2 separate regions of the Homo sapiens genome follow, and region 1 is linked to region 2. The links are contacts of gene promoters, found by promoter capture Hi-C in blood cells and fetal thymus (Javierre and others, 2016). All regions are on one chromosome and are shown on one strand. Each heading gives the region's core, a stretch centred on a gene start or on the middle of the fragment in contact. The rest is flanking DNA. Distances are from core to core; before and after follow the strand shown. Region 1 has its middle 21 kb from the start of SCGB3A2. Region 2 holds the start of FBXO38 (F-box protein 38).

Region 1 (5,836 bases), core at 1,197-3,696, 530 kb before region 2:
TTAATCACAGACGGCAATGAGATGATTGAACTTTGTAGGCTTAGTGTTGAGTCTAAACTGTGAGACCAGTCTGTAAAATGAGCTTAATCTAATTGAGCTTTAGCTATAAAATCCGTATATATTCCTCTGAAGCTTAAATAAACCCAGTAAATAAAGGTAATTGGACAACCAGAAAGCATAATACAAATGTGTGATTTACGATTTGGTTTAAAATAGTTGGACATTATTAGGATGCAATATTATTAAATAGTATTTGGAAAGGCCGTCCGCATGGGACACTGTGGTAGATGAGAAAACTGATGCTCAGAGAGCTCCTGTCTGTTTATGGCTTGGTTGTGATGGTGAGGGATCTCCCCCATGTGCAGAAAGTCAGAAGTGGATGCTTCCTCAATGATGAGAGGGGCAACTTTGTGGGAGGAACAAAGAGTGAGTGAAGTTTTAAAATTGCAAGACAGGGGAAAGGATAGTGTTGGAGGTAAATGTTGAATACAAATATATGAACGTAAATCTGAATTTAAGTATTAAATGAAATATATTTACATAAACCTGGCACATTCCTGTTAACAATAGCTCAGAACAATCTCTAGTGTACAGTAGCCTTTTTGATCCCCAGTTTGCTTTTCTCGGTTTCAGTTACCCATGGTCAACTGGAGTTCAAAAATATTACACGAAAAATTTCAGAAATATACAACTCATAAGTTTTAAATTTCACACTGCTCTGAGTAGCACGATGAAATCTCATGCCCAGGGACATGACTTGTCCCTTTGTCTGGAGTACCCGTGCTGTGGATGCTGCTTGCCTGTTACTCACTTGGCAGCCAACTCGGTTATCACACTGACTGTCTCAGTATCACAGTGATTATGTTCAAGTCACCCATATTTTATTTTGTAATGGCCCCAGAGTACAAGAGCAGTGATGCTGGCAATTTGGAAATGCCAAAGAGAAGCCACGAAGTGCTTCCTTTAAGTGAAAATATAAAAGTTCTTGACTTAATAAGGAAAGAAAAAAATAATATGCTGAAGTGGTTAAGATCTATAGTAAGAACAAATACTTTATCTGTGAAACTATGAAGAAGAAAAAATTGTGCTAGTTTTTCTGTCACACTTCAAGCTGCAAAAGTTACAGCCACAGTGCATGATAACTTTTATTTCAGTACGTTGTTATAGTTGCTCTATTTTATTATTAGCTGTTGTTGTTAATCTTTTACTGTGCCTAATTTATAAATTAAACATTATCATGGATAAGAATGTGTAGGAGAAACAGTATATATAAAGTTCAGAACTATTCGAGGTTTCAGGCATCCACTGGGGGTCTTGGAATGTATCCCTTTTGGATATGCAGGGACTCTGGTACAAAGCCTCTTCCATTATATCATCATAATGGCCATGATTACACACCCAAGGGGTCATATATCTTTGAATTGAACTTTCATCCAGAACTCTTAAAAAACAAAATATGTTGGTAAATACTTAGATGCCTAAGTATTTATTATCTCTTATCTCTTCTGACTCTTCTACCTTCCAGCAGAAGACCATGGAAGAAAGATAAACTTTTAAAGCACAGCCTTATAGGAAAGTTGTGTTAATAGATGGTAGCAGGTTTTGTAATTATTCCAATAGGTAAAATGAAAATAAACTTGGGGTCAAATAAATACTCTTAGGCCAAGCCAGTACTAGGCTTGTCTGATGCATATTCACACACCAATACAATTTTATTCTTTTAAGCTACTTTTTGTTAGTCTGATATTTTAATATTGTTTATGATGTGTTAGAACTTGATTCTGGCAGCCATTCTCTGAACTAAAAAAGCTTAATGTGATCTGGGGCCATTAATAAACTCTGATGTCTTCTTCAAAGAAGCTGATAGACCTGCTCTGCTCTGTGCTAGGCAAGACCTAAATAGTATTACATTTAGCTATGGCACCACTTTGGAGATTCTTGGAAACACTTCTGGTTGTGTTGAGGAGGTGACAATGGTTGACCTTAGGCATCCAAATGTGACCTGTACATCTTATTATTAGTGCTGCTTTCTAAGTTTCTGTCCAGGACATAAACTTAGTTCTGTCCTTTCTAAATGCTTTCCACAATTTTTGATGACAATATGTTGGAATTTCTGGAGTTGGCACTCATGGACTAAGGAATGCAAGGAGGGCTGAGTAGCAGCCTGTGTCGACCTAAATGTCTGTTGATTTATCAAAATCCTAGTGTGACAGAAGGATCCTGATGATCCCCCCTATACTGCTGAATATTTAGGGGATGCTATGAAATCTCCTAAGATTAGAGGCCTCCAGGTCTTCAAGGTACATCAGCCAATTTGAGTACTTTGTCTTTACTCTTAAATTCTCCATATTCCCAAATCCAATATAAAAGTTTCTAAGCCTCTGAGTTTCTCCATACCCCCAAATTCAATATAAAAGGTCCTAAGCCTTCTGCAGCATTTGAGGTAGTATTTCTTTTAGCTGGCTTATCATCTGAGAAGTAAAACAAAAACTAAAAACAATATTTCTTCCTCCTCTTTAAACATATATTTTTTTTCCTTTTTCAATTCATTATTTTCTTCTAGCACAGGATGTGGCACAAAGATGGCCATCACTAACATTGCCTGTTAGGTTGCTTTTGTTTTGTAAACTGTAGCACAATCCCGGAAATGGCCACAAGAGGGCATTTGTGCACCACTTTGAAAGTTACTCTTGTTCAACATCGCATTCCACAAACATTCATAGTTTCCCATGGTTTGAACTTTAATAATTCCACCCTGAAAGAAAGAAAATGAAGCTGAAGTCATATCAGACATAATCTAATCCATATTGTCATTCCAAAGATTCCAGATCTCAGGACCTGTGATAGTGTAACTCTTTAAAATATTGAAGCATTGTGAATGATTTTAAACATTTCAAAAAAAGAAATGTTTTAAATATTTTAATTAGTGTTGAGGCTTAAGTAGCTGTACTTTTGACTTAGATTATTATAGATTTGACAGTCAAAACCTTAAAATATTGAGACCCATGGGGGAAAATAATGTGTGCATCAACATTTATTGAATTTGATACTTTTTGTGATAGAGTCCCAGAAATGATATGTGAGAAGCTTAATAAGGTTTAAAGTGCTTTGTTTATTGCAGTTTTAAGTGTCTTCTTCTTGAATTAAATCTTAGGTTAAGGAGGCTGTTGGAGTCATATGATGATATTATGGTGCAAAATTAATTACCTTTGCACCAACCTCATAGACTTGGAAAGTGTAATGAAGATAATCTCATCTATTCTTATCTATTACAAGAGCCTTTTCCACAGTAAATTTGGTATTAGCTAACCTTTATTTGTAGGATTCAGTATGGAGCCATTAAACTTTATTTTCTTGTAATTTGTAGTCACATTTCAAAAACCTCTCAAATTCAATCCTAAATTCATATCTATTTTTGCTTCATGATGATAGCCCTCCAAATATCTGAACAATCTCTTAAGGGTTTCTTGGTTTATCTTCTCTCCAGGCTGGTGTCACCAAGTTTATTAACTGTCTCTCATATGATCCTTCAAAAGCCTGGATAATCTTCTTATTATGGGTTTGTTGTGAATTAAATATGACCACACATTCTTTGCAATTCCTCCTACCAAGAAGTAGAGTTTATTTTCTCTCCTCTTGGCACTGGGCACGTCCTATGGCTTCATTTGAATAATAGAATGTGGCTGAAGAGATGCCATGTGTCTTTTGAGGCTAAACATTAGGACATCTAGGGTTTTAATTTTCATATCTTGGAATGCATTTTCCTGGAACTCATGAATTACCAGATGCTTTGCAAACTGCCTCCACTGAGCTCATAGCCAAAGCCAATCACAAAATGCCAGTATTCTGGCTCTCCAGCCATCCCAGTGCCCCAGTAAACATCAATCAATGAAACAGGTGAAGCAGCTATATGGTATTTTTAAAGAATCATGAAAAAAGTACACTGTGCTTGTTTTGAACCACTGAATTTTGGAGTATTTTGTTATATGGCATTAGACAACTGAGAGGTCCAGGTTGCAAATGATCTCACTGGGTTGAGTTCAGATCTAAATAGAATGTGTTGACTGTGACTAATAACCTGTAAAATAGATTTTTTTCTTATTTGATTTTGATGGCACATTTTCATAGTAACATATTTTTTCAGCCATATTTTCATAACCTGTGATATTTGAAATGATTTGAGACCAGAGCTGTTGTTGCTTATCTTGACTTAAAAAGAAAGACCACTGAAATAGAGCCTGTGACTTTTTCCCCAGTTCCTCAGTTTTTTCTGACAGCCAAAAAATAAATCCTGAATTTTTCTAGACTTGATGGAATGACAAACATGATTTCATTAATACAATACTTAACTGTAAACCAAGGGTTTGCACATACATCATCTCACTTAATCCACACAAACGTATATGGCAGCATTAATAACCCTTTAACACACACTGAAGTATTTGTGAGTGATAGGACATTGGCTAGCAATTTACTCTCCAATGGTTCTGAAAAAAAGAGTTCTATGTACTGTATTCAAATCTTTTCTGTAAGTTTGAAATTGTCTCAAATTTAAAATCTTATACCAAAAAAAATCTTATAATTTGTTCACTGGATGCAGTGATTATCCATTCTCCTACTTCTATTCTGTGTACAAGCTAAAGAAAGGTAAAATTCTTCAAAGAGAAATTACAAATAAAACTCCCCAAACATCACTCAAAATTAAAGTGTTGAGAAGTAGTTCATGAGCTTGGTGATTGTGGCTGCTCTGACTGAGGTTATAATTATGAAGCTGGATAGCTAAAAGTAAAGATAGAGAGGGGATAATAATAATAATAGTGTAACGTATCTTGAGTGTTCATTCCCAGGTACTAATTTTTGTAAGCATTTTGCATATGTTAACTTATTACTTATAACACCCTTAGAAGGAAGGAAGTTTGTTAGCCCAACTATAAAATAGTTGGTAAAACTGAGGCCCAGCAAGGTAAATAACTTCCCCATTGGAAAAGCTGTGCCATGAATACAGACAGGCTGGCTTCAGGACCTGTGCTCTTTGTCACTAAACAAAGAACAAGGGCACTGAAAGCACAAAAGAGCAGCCTCAACCCTAGAAAGATGTGGAGAAGCTGGAGACAGTGTTTAGCAAACATCAAGCTTGTCAGGAGCCCACACACCTCAGTAAAAAGGCCTCCTCCACCCTGTACTACCAAAAGAATCATAGCGCATGTTGTTAAATCAAACTAAATATGGCCTGAGAAAGCCTCCATACTTCCATATTTGAATCCTTGTGGATGAACTATAACCACCTTAGTAGGTAGACAAGACTGAAGTATGCTTCTGTAACAATAGGTGAGTCTCAGCCAATCCCAGAAGCTATACTTAACCACTCATATGCCGCTGACTGTTCAAACTATGCTCAAATAAGACATGCACCAAGCTGTAACCAATCCATCTGTTTCTGTACCTCACCTCTGTTTTTTTATACATCACTTTCCTTTTATTGTTCTGACCGTGAGGCATCCCTGGAGTCACTCTGAATCTGCTGTGATTCTGGAGGCTGCCCAATTTTTTTCTTTTTTTTTCCCTTGCTCAATTAAACTGTTAAATTTAATTTGTCTAAAGTTTTCTTTTAACAGATCTGGTGTCAGAGTGGGATTAAAAGTAAAACTCCAGCAACCCCCAGGAACACCAGGTGACCAGGTGAGGTACCTGAGGAGACTATTGTGCTCACTGCTCTCTTGATTGTAGCTGGAGGTCATGGGTGAGTTTGCTCTCAGATTCCGAGCTCCACCAACTTGTGTTCTGAGCTCTATGTGTTTATTTGAGCAATAGTTAGGCTGGACTGAGTCCAGGATTG
Region 2 (6,170 bases), core at 2,885-5,384:
GCATTATTCATAATAACCAAAATGTGGAAGTAACCCAAATGCCCATTGATGGATGAATAGAAAATGTGATATATACAGGCAATGGAATATTATTCAGCCTTAAAACCTTGAGGACTTCATACTAAGTGAAATAAGTCAGTCACAAAAAGACAAAGTGTGTGAAGCTACTTCTATGAGGTATTTAATGTAGTCAAACTCAGAAACAGGATGTAAAACTGTGGTTTCCAGAGCTAGGGTAGGAGAAAATGGAGAGCTCTTGTTCAATGGACATAGAGTATCAGTCTCGCAATGAAAAAGTTCTAGAGATCTGCTGAACAACGTGAATATGGTTGATACTACTGAACTGTACACTTAAAAATGGGCTCAAAAATTTTTTTAGCTCCCACATATGAGTGAAAACATACAGTGTTTATCTTTCTGTGCCTGAGTTATTTCACTTAACATAATGTCCTCCAGGTTCATCCATATTGCCTCCAATGACAGGATTTCATCCTTTTGTATACATATTTTGTGTATATGTTCCACATTTTCTTTATTCATTCATCTGTTAATGGTAGGGTGAATACAGTTAATGATAGTTTATTGTATATTTTCAAGAAGCTAAAAGAGAGGATTTTGAATGTTTGCAACACAAAGATGATAAATGTTTGCGGTGAATGGATATGCTAATTAGCCTGCTTTGATCATTATAGATTGTATACATGTATTGAAATATCACTCTGTATCCCATGAATATGTACAATTATTATGCATTAACTAAAAACTAAAAATGAATGGAAATACATAACTAAAATGGTAAATTTTATGTTATGTGTTTTTAATCACAATGAAAAATAAACAACAAATAAATAACATAAAGAATGAATTGATAAACAAAATGTGAAATATATATGCAGTGGAACATTATTCAGATTTAAAAAGGAATTAAATTCTAAATACATGCTACAACATGGATGAACCCTGAAGATATTATGCTAAGTGAAAAAATTCAGACATAAAATGACAAATATTGTTATGATTCCACTTATATGAGTACCTAGAGTGGTCAAAATCATAGAGTCAAAAAGTAGAATGGTGGCTGCCAGGGACTGGGGGAAGGAGAGCATAGGGAATTGTTGTTTAAAGAGTTTCAGTTTGGGAAGATAGAAAAGTTATGATGATTGGCGGCGGTGGTGTTTGCACAATAATGTGAATGTGCATAATTCCACTGAACTGTATACTTAAAGAGGTTAAAATGACAAATATATATATTTTGCCACAATTTTTCTTAAAAAATAATGTATGACATTATTCATGCACAAATGCAAGACTGGGCTGGAGGGACTACAAGCCTTACTTTTTGATGCTTGTGCTAATATTCATACATCCAAAAATCTAAAAATTAAAAACAATGAGGTAGTGTGGTAAATTACAGATGGCCACAAAGTCTTTGCTACATCTTCAATTAAGAGGTGGACTCTTATTCTTCTCTTGAATCTGGGCTGGCTTAGTGGCTTTTTTGACCTAACACGACGTGATGGAAGTCACTCCTGGGACTGCAGAGGCTACATTATATGAAGTTTTGTAGCTTCCTCCTGTTTTGCTTGGAACAGCTCCCTTTTTTCCCATTCTACCTCCAAGTGCTCCCTGTCAAAACCCAAACACCACGGTATAAGAAACCCAAATCAGAGGGAAAGCCCAAGTGTAGGCACTCTGATAAATAGCTCCAACTGAGCATCTAGAGATCAGCCAGCCTCAACTGCCATCAATATAACATCTATTAGAGGCTGACATTAACTACAGCCCCAGTTTGATATCTGACTGTAAATGCCAGAGACTGCAAGCTAGGACTGCCCAGCCTAACCCAGTTACCCTACAGAATCAGGGCAGATAAAATTTTTAGCCACTAAATTCTGGAGTGACTTGTTACGTAGGTACCATAATGTCTATTTTAAAGAAACCTGAACCTTAGAGCTGAAGTGATTGCCCATTGTCTCTCTGCCAGTAAGCAGAGGAACTCACAGTTAACCAAGTCTTTCTGGTTCTAAAGCCTGCATTGCTGACTACTAAATACACAACTTCTCAGTCAAAACAGCTACAATAGTTTTTTTTTTTCCTTTTTACCTTCAAAAAAAATCCTGTATTTGAATTCATAGTGGAGTTCTGCCATATACGCCAAGTCTAAGGGTAGTTAAGAATAGCCTTGATATGCATAGCACCTTCTGCAGTTGTGCACTGAACAGGCTCCATAGCCATATGAACCTGTCCTGAGCAAACTCCAACCACTATCCCTGACCAAAACTTCTCTTGAGTATTAGTCATCATTTTAACAAAGGGATTATCTGTTGTTTAGGTACCTAAGGAATTTCAAGGAAGAACACGGGCTGATACTAGAACTCATGGAAGAATGAAAAGAGATACTTTAGAATTTAATTAAAAAGTGGGGATTGAAAATTAAAACAACACAGCGGTTTAAGGTCATTTACTGTAGGGCAAACTTTCCTGCAGCGCTCAGGGACCCCATGATGGTGCCACTGTACAGGAGAAATACTAACTCAGGACCTTTTTAATGAAAACCTGTAACATCAAGGTACAAATAAATCCTAGAGATGAAGGGATACATATAACATGCTCTACCTGAAAATGTTAAAACTAGTTTTGATATCTTATTATATATAACACTCATAGCAGTGAGAAAATATCTTTAACATTTATTACAATGATTTGTGGTAGGAAATTTTCTAAACTTGAGGTAGGAAACCTTTCTTACTCATGAGTATTCATTTCAGGTCCCACTACAGTGCTTTTTACAAAAGGAGGAATGCTAATAAAATGAAAATCATATTCCATTGAATTAAAAATTCAGGCCAATTGTGCTGAAATAAATCTTACTGAATGCCTTCTAAATATGCCATGCCCTGCACTAGAAACTTTCGTAATTCCTATTTATTCTTCAGAATAACCTGGGAAACAGAAAAAGCTAAAGTCTGTTTCCTTTATTAAAGTTTGAATATGAAGAAACCGACAGAAGCAAATAGCATAAAAATTCATTTTTGTCTTCAATTACAGGAAGAATGTAACATGAAAGCTGAGATTACAATGAATAGTACATGAATATGATGAGGTTTTGTTTTGTTTGTCCTACCAGAGCTCCAAATAAAAACACAGATATATGGTTTGACATACGGAATGGGATAGCTAAAACTGTGACTGCCTAAGACAAGCTGAAACCTAAGGTGCCGAACCATATTGGGGAAAGAGGGGAAAAACCAGTAGGTCTGCTATCAATCAAGAAAAGAATAAGAAGAAATGGGATTCCCAAGCCTTCTTCAGCTTTTTCTTCTCCAGCAGAATAGCCTAGTCAATGCTACGTCTTGTCAAATTGTGTCTCACATGGCTTTAATGCACACTAACTTTCCTAAGAAGTATTTGTATCTATTTAAATCTAGGGATTTTAGCCCATATTAATTACATGTATATTAGGGCAAGAACACAGGATGTAAAAGGTAAAAATCTGAATTTCAGTCCATCTGCGAGACATTGTGAAAATCAATTACACTCTCTGAAGACAATTCCTTATCCATTAAACAACAGAAAAGGTGATTAAGTTGATCCTTGCCTACATGTCAGAGTCGTGTAGAGTTTTTAATGACACTCATGTGAAATTCCTTTGGACTGTAAAATACTATTACTTACGTGCAAAGATAATGTCCCGAAATCACAGAAGGGATGACTTAACATTAACATCTTTAACTGCGCCCCCGTCCTTCCTCTCAAAAAAAAAAAGTTCTCTATTTTTAGTTGAATGATTCTGGGAAAATCTCTATTGGAACCTATCGACTTCGCAAATGACAAAGGCGAGGTCCAGAGACTTATCCAAGACCCCAGAGTACCAGTGGAAATCAAGACCAAACCACACGGTGGAGACTGGTTCCGACGTATCAGACTCAGTGCTTCCGGCATGGCGCTTTAGTGTCAGGTGAAAGAACAGCAACCCGCCCCGCTTCTCCACCCCTGACAAGCCTTCCGAAATGCCACGCTGAACATGGCTGCCGCGCTTCGATGCTTCTTCACACACACAATATGGACACGGGTTTGAGGCTCCAGCCCCGGATGACAACACTCCGGAAATATGCGAGCGGCGGCGGAAGCGGAAGTGCCTCAGCGGTAGGGGCCGGGGAAGTGTCTGTAGCGTCCCTCCCTCTCAACCACAATAACAGGCGGAGGGTCGGCGTAGGTGAGGCGGCGGCTGAGTGGGCCTGGGGACCGGGAGCGGGGTGGCAAAGCCCGGAGTGCGTGCGGCAGGGCTGAGGTAGCTGGGTGGGGATTCTGGAACTTCCGACCGCTTAAGCTCGGCCTCTGGCCCCCTTGGGGCCTAGAGCTCCTTGAGAGATCAGGGGTTGAATTTGTAGTTCCTGGCCTTCTAGGCCGTGCTTGCGGGGGTTGCCTGCTTGTCTGAACCTGGCCCCAAAATCCAGCATAAAGAACTCTCTCTGGGCCCCAGTTTCCTCAATGAAATGGGTGAGGGTGTTGGACTGGACAGCTTCTGTGACTGTCTCCCACCCCGGGCGTCACGAATTTCATGATTTTAATGTTAAGTCGGTGTTTCGGCCAGTAAAGTGAAGGAGGTCTGTGTTCAGCGTAGTGAGGAGATGTCCCTGAGCAGGAAGCAGTGAACACATCTTTGGCTGCCACGCCTGAGTATCAGGAGCCCTGAATTCTAGTTTCACCCCTTCCACCTACACACCGTGTGACCTTGTCTAGGTCCATTAGCTTTTCTGTGCTGCAGTTTGCTTATCTGTGTTGGATGCCTTTGATGTCCGTGCCCTAGCTGTGGAAATCAGATTCTTAACTCCCTTTTCATGGAGTCTTTACAGACCTGAAAAGCATATTCTCCCTGCACTCTGCACACCCAGAATTTGACTAAGAGATGTCTACCGTGTTTCTTTGCAGACACCAAGCTGGCCAAGGGCAACTGGTCACTTAGGAAGGTTCCTGTGCAATGAGAAGCTCTGTCCAGAAAACTTTGTTTTATACACCTAAACCAGCAGTGTAAATCACTACAAAGTGAAAAACAGGAGACCTTGATTTTTGTTCCAAAGTTGCTATTAACTTGATGGTTTACTTTGGCCAAATCCCTTCCTCTCTCTGAACTTGAGATTTTTTTATCTGCTAAAGGAAGACGTTGGATTAGGTCACTGGTTTTTAATCCCCTTTCCCATTCCCCCAGCACAAGTGAAGGATAAAATAATAGTTCTATAAAGCCATGATTTTCCCAGGGAAGGAGGAGGTCCAGTCTGGAGGGTATGTATTACATAGGCATAGACTGAAAAAAATCCGCTTGTAATTTTTAACTTTCATTTTGAGAATTAACATTTTAGATTATCTGTAAGCCTTCTTTCCCCTCTTTAAAATATGTGATGCTGTAATTCTGATGTCCTCCTTGGGTAAAGAATGTAGAGTTTTGTGTGCCTCTTTGTTTAAATGGCTGTGTGCCCAGAGGTACACACTTTATATTTAGTCAAACAGATACTAATGCATAGCAGAGGAGAAAAAGGGACAACTAGATTCCAGTAAGATAGGGTGATATAGTGAAGTAAAATTGGTGGTATACTAAAATGAAATAAGGTGGTATAGTGAAATAAAATTAAAAAGGAGTTGAAGACCTGTATCCCTGCTTCACACTGGTACATCCTGCCTCTGTGACTTTGGACAAGCCATCTAACATCTCTAGGCCTCACTTTCCTTATCTGTAAAACGAAGGGTTGAGCTGGATGATTCCTAGGCCTTTTTCAGCACCATCATCCTGTTGGGGGGTTTTTGTTTTGTTTTGTTTGTGTGTGGTTTTTATCTGAGCAGTTTGGTTTATGTGGTGTGGTATTTCTTTAGACAAGAGAGGCTGTCCTGGTCAGTAGATACACAAGATAGTCTATGATGTCAATTAAGGTCTGTGAGGTCAAATTAAGTGATATGCAAGATTACTTTGATATGAGCAAGCTGAAACCAATAGAAACTAAAGAAAGGCATGAGAAACTTGAAGGGCAGGGAAGCCCTTGACCAGATAGGATCATTGAGAATATAGGGAAGTTTCAAGTGAGAGGGGGTATTTTTCACGAGGGTAAAGAAAAGTAATTTGAGTTTGGGATGGGAAGGAGATTTGAATTGACGAGATAGGAGAACACTTTTTGGAA

The links. The method cuts DNA at HindIII sites, captures the fragments that hold promoters and counts their contacts. A CHiCAGO score of 5 or more calls a contact.
Region 1: a fragment that was not itself captured here is called in contact with the fragment with the promoter of FBXO38 in region 2 in 1 of 17 cell types (megakaryocytes); the score reaches 6.5 in megakaryocytes.

The regions. Positions count from the first base shown.
Region 1 is chr5:147,855,079-147,860,914 of GRCh38, forward strand. No RefSeq gene overlaps it. Among named protein-coding and RNA genes, the nearest start is that of SCGB3A2, 21 kb to the right of the region's middle. The HindIII fragment of the contact is 1,278 bases long and covers 1,808-3,085 here.
Region 2 is chr5:148,379,824-148,385,993 of GRCh38, forward strand. It overlaps FBXO38 (F-box protein 38), which reads left to right and starts at 4,135. Exons shown (of 22, transcript NM_205836.3): 1 at 4,135-4,216. FBXO38-DT (FBXO38 divergent transcript) reads right to left here and starts at 4,027. Exons shown (of 5, transcript NR_105057.1): 1 at 3,676-4,027. RefSeq lists an enhancer at 3,912-4,111. The HindIII fragment of the contact is 17,680 bases long and covers 1-6,170 here.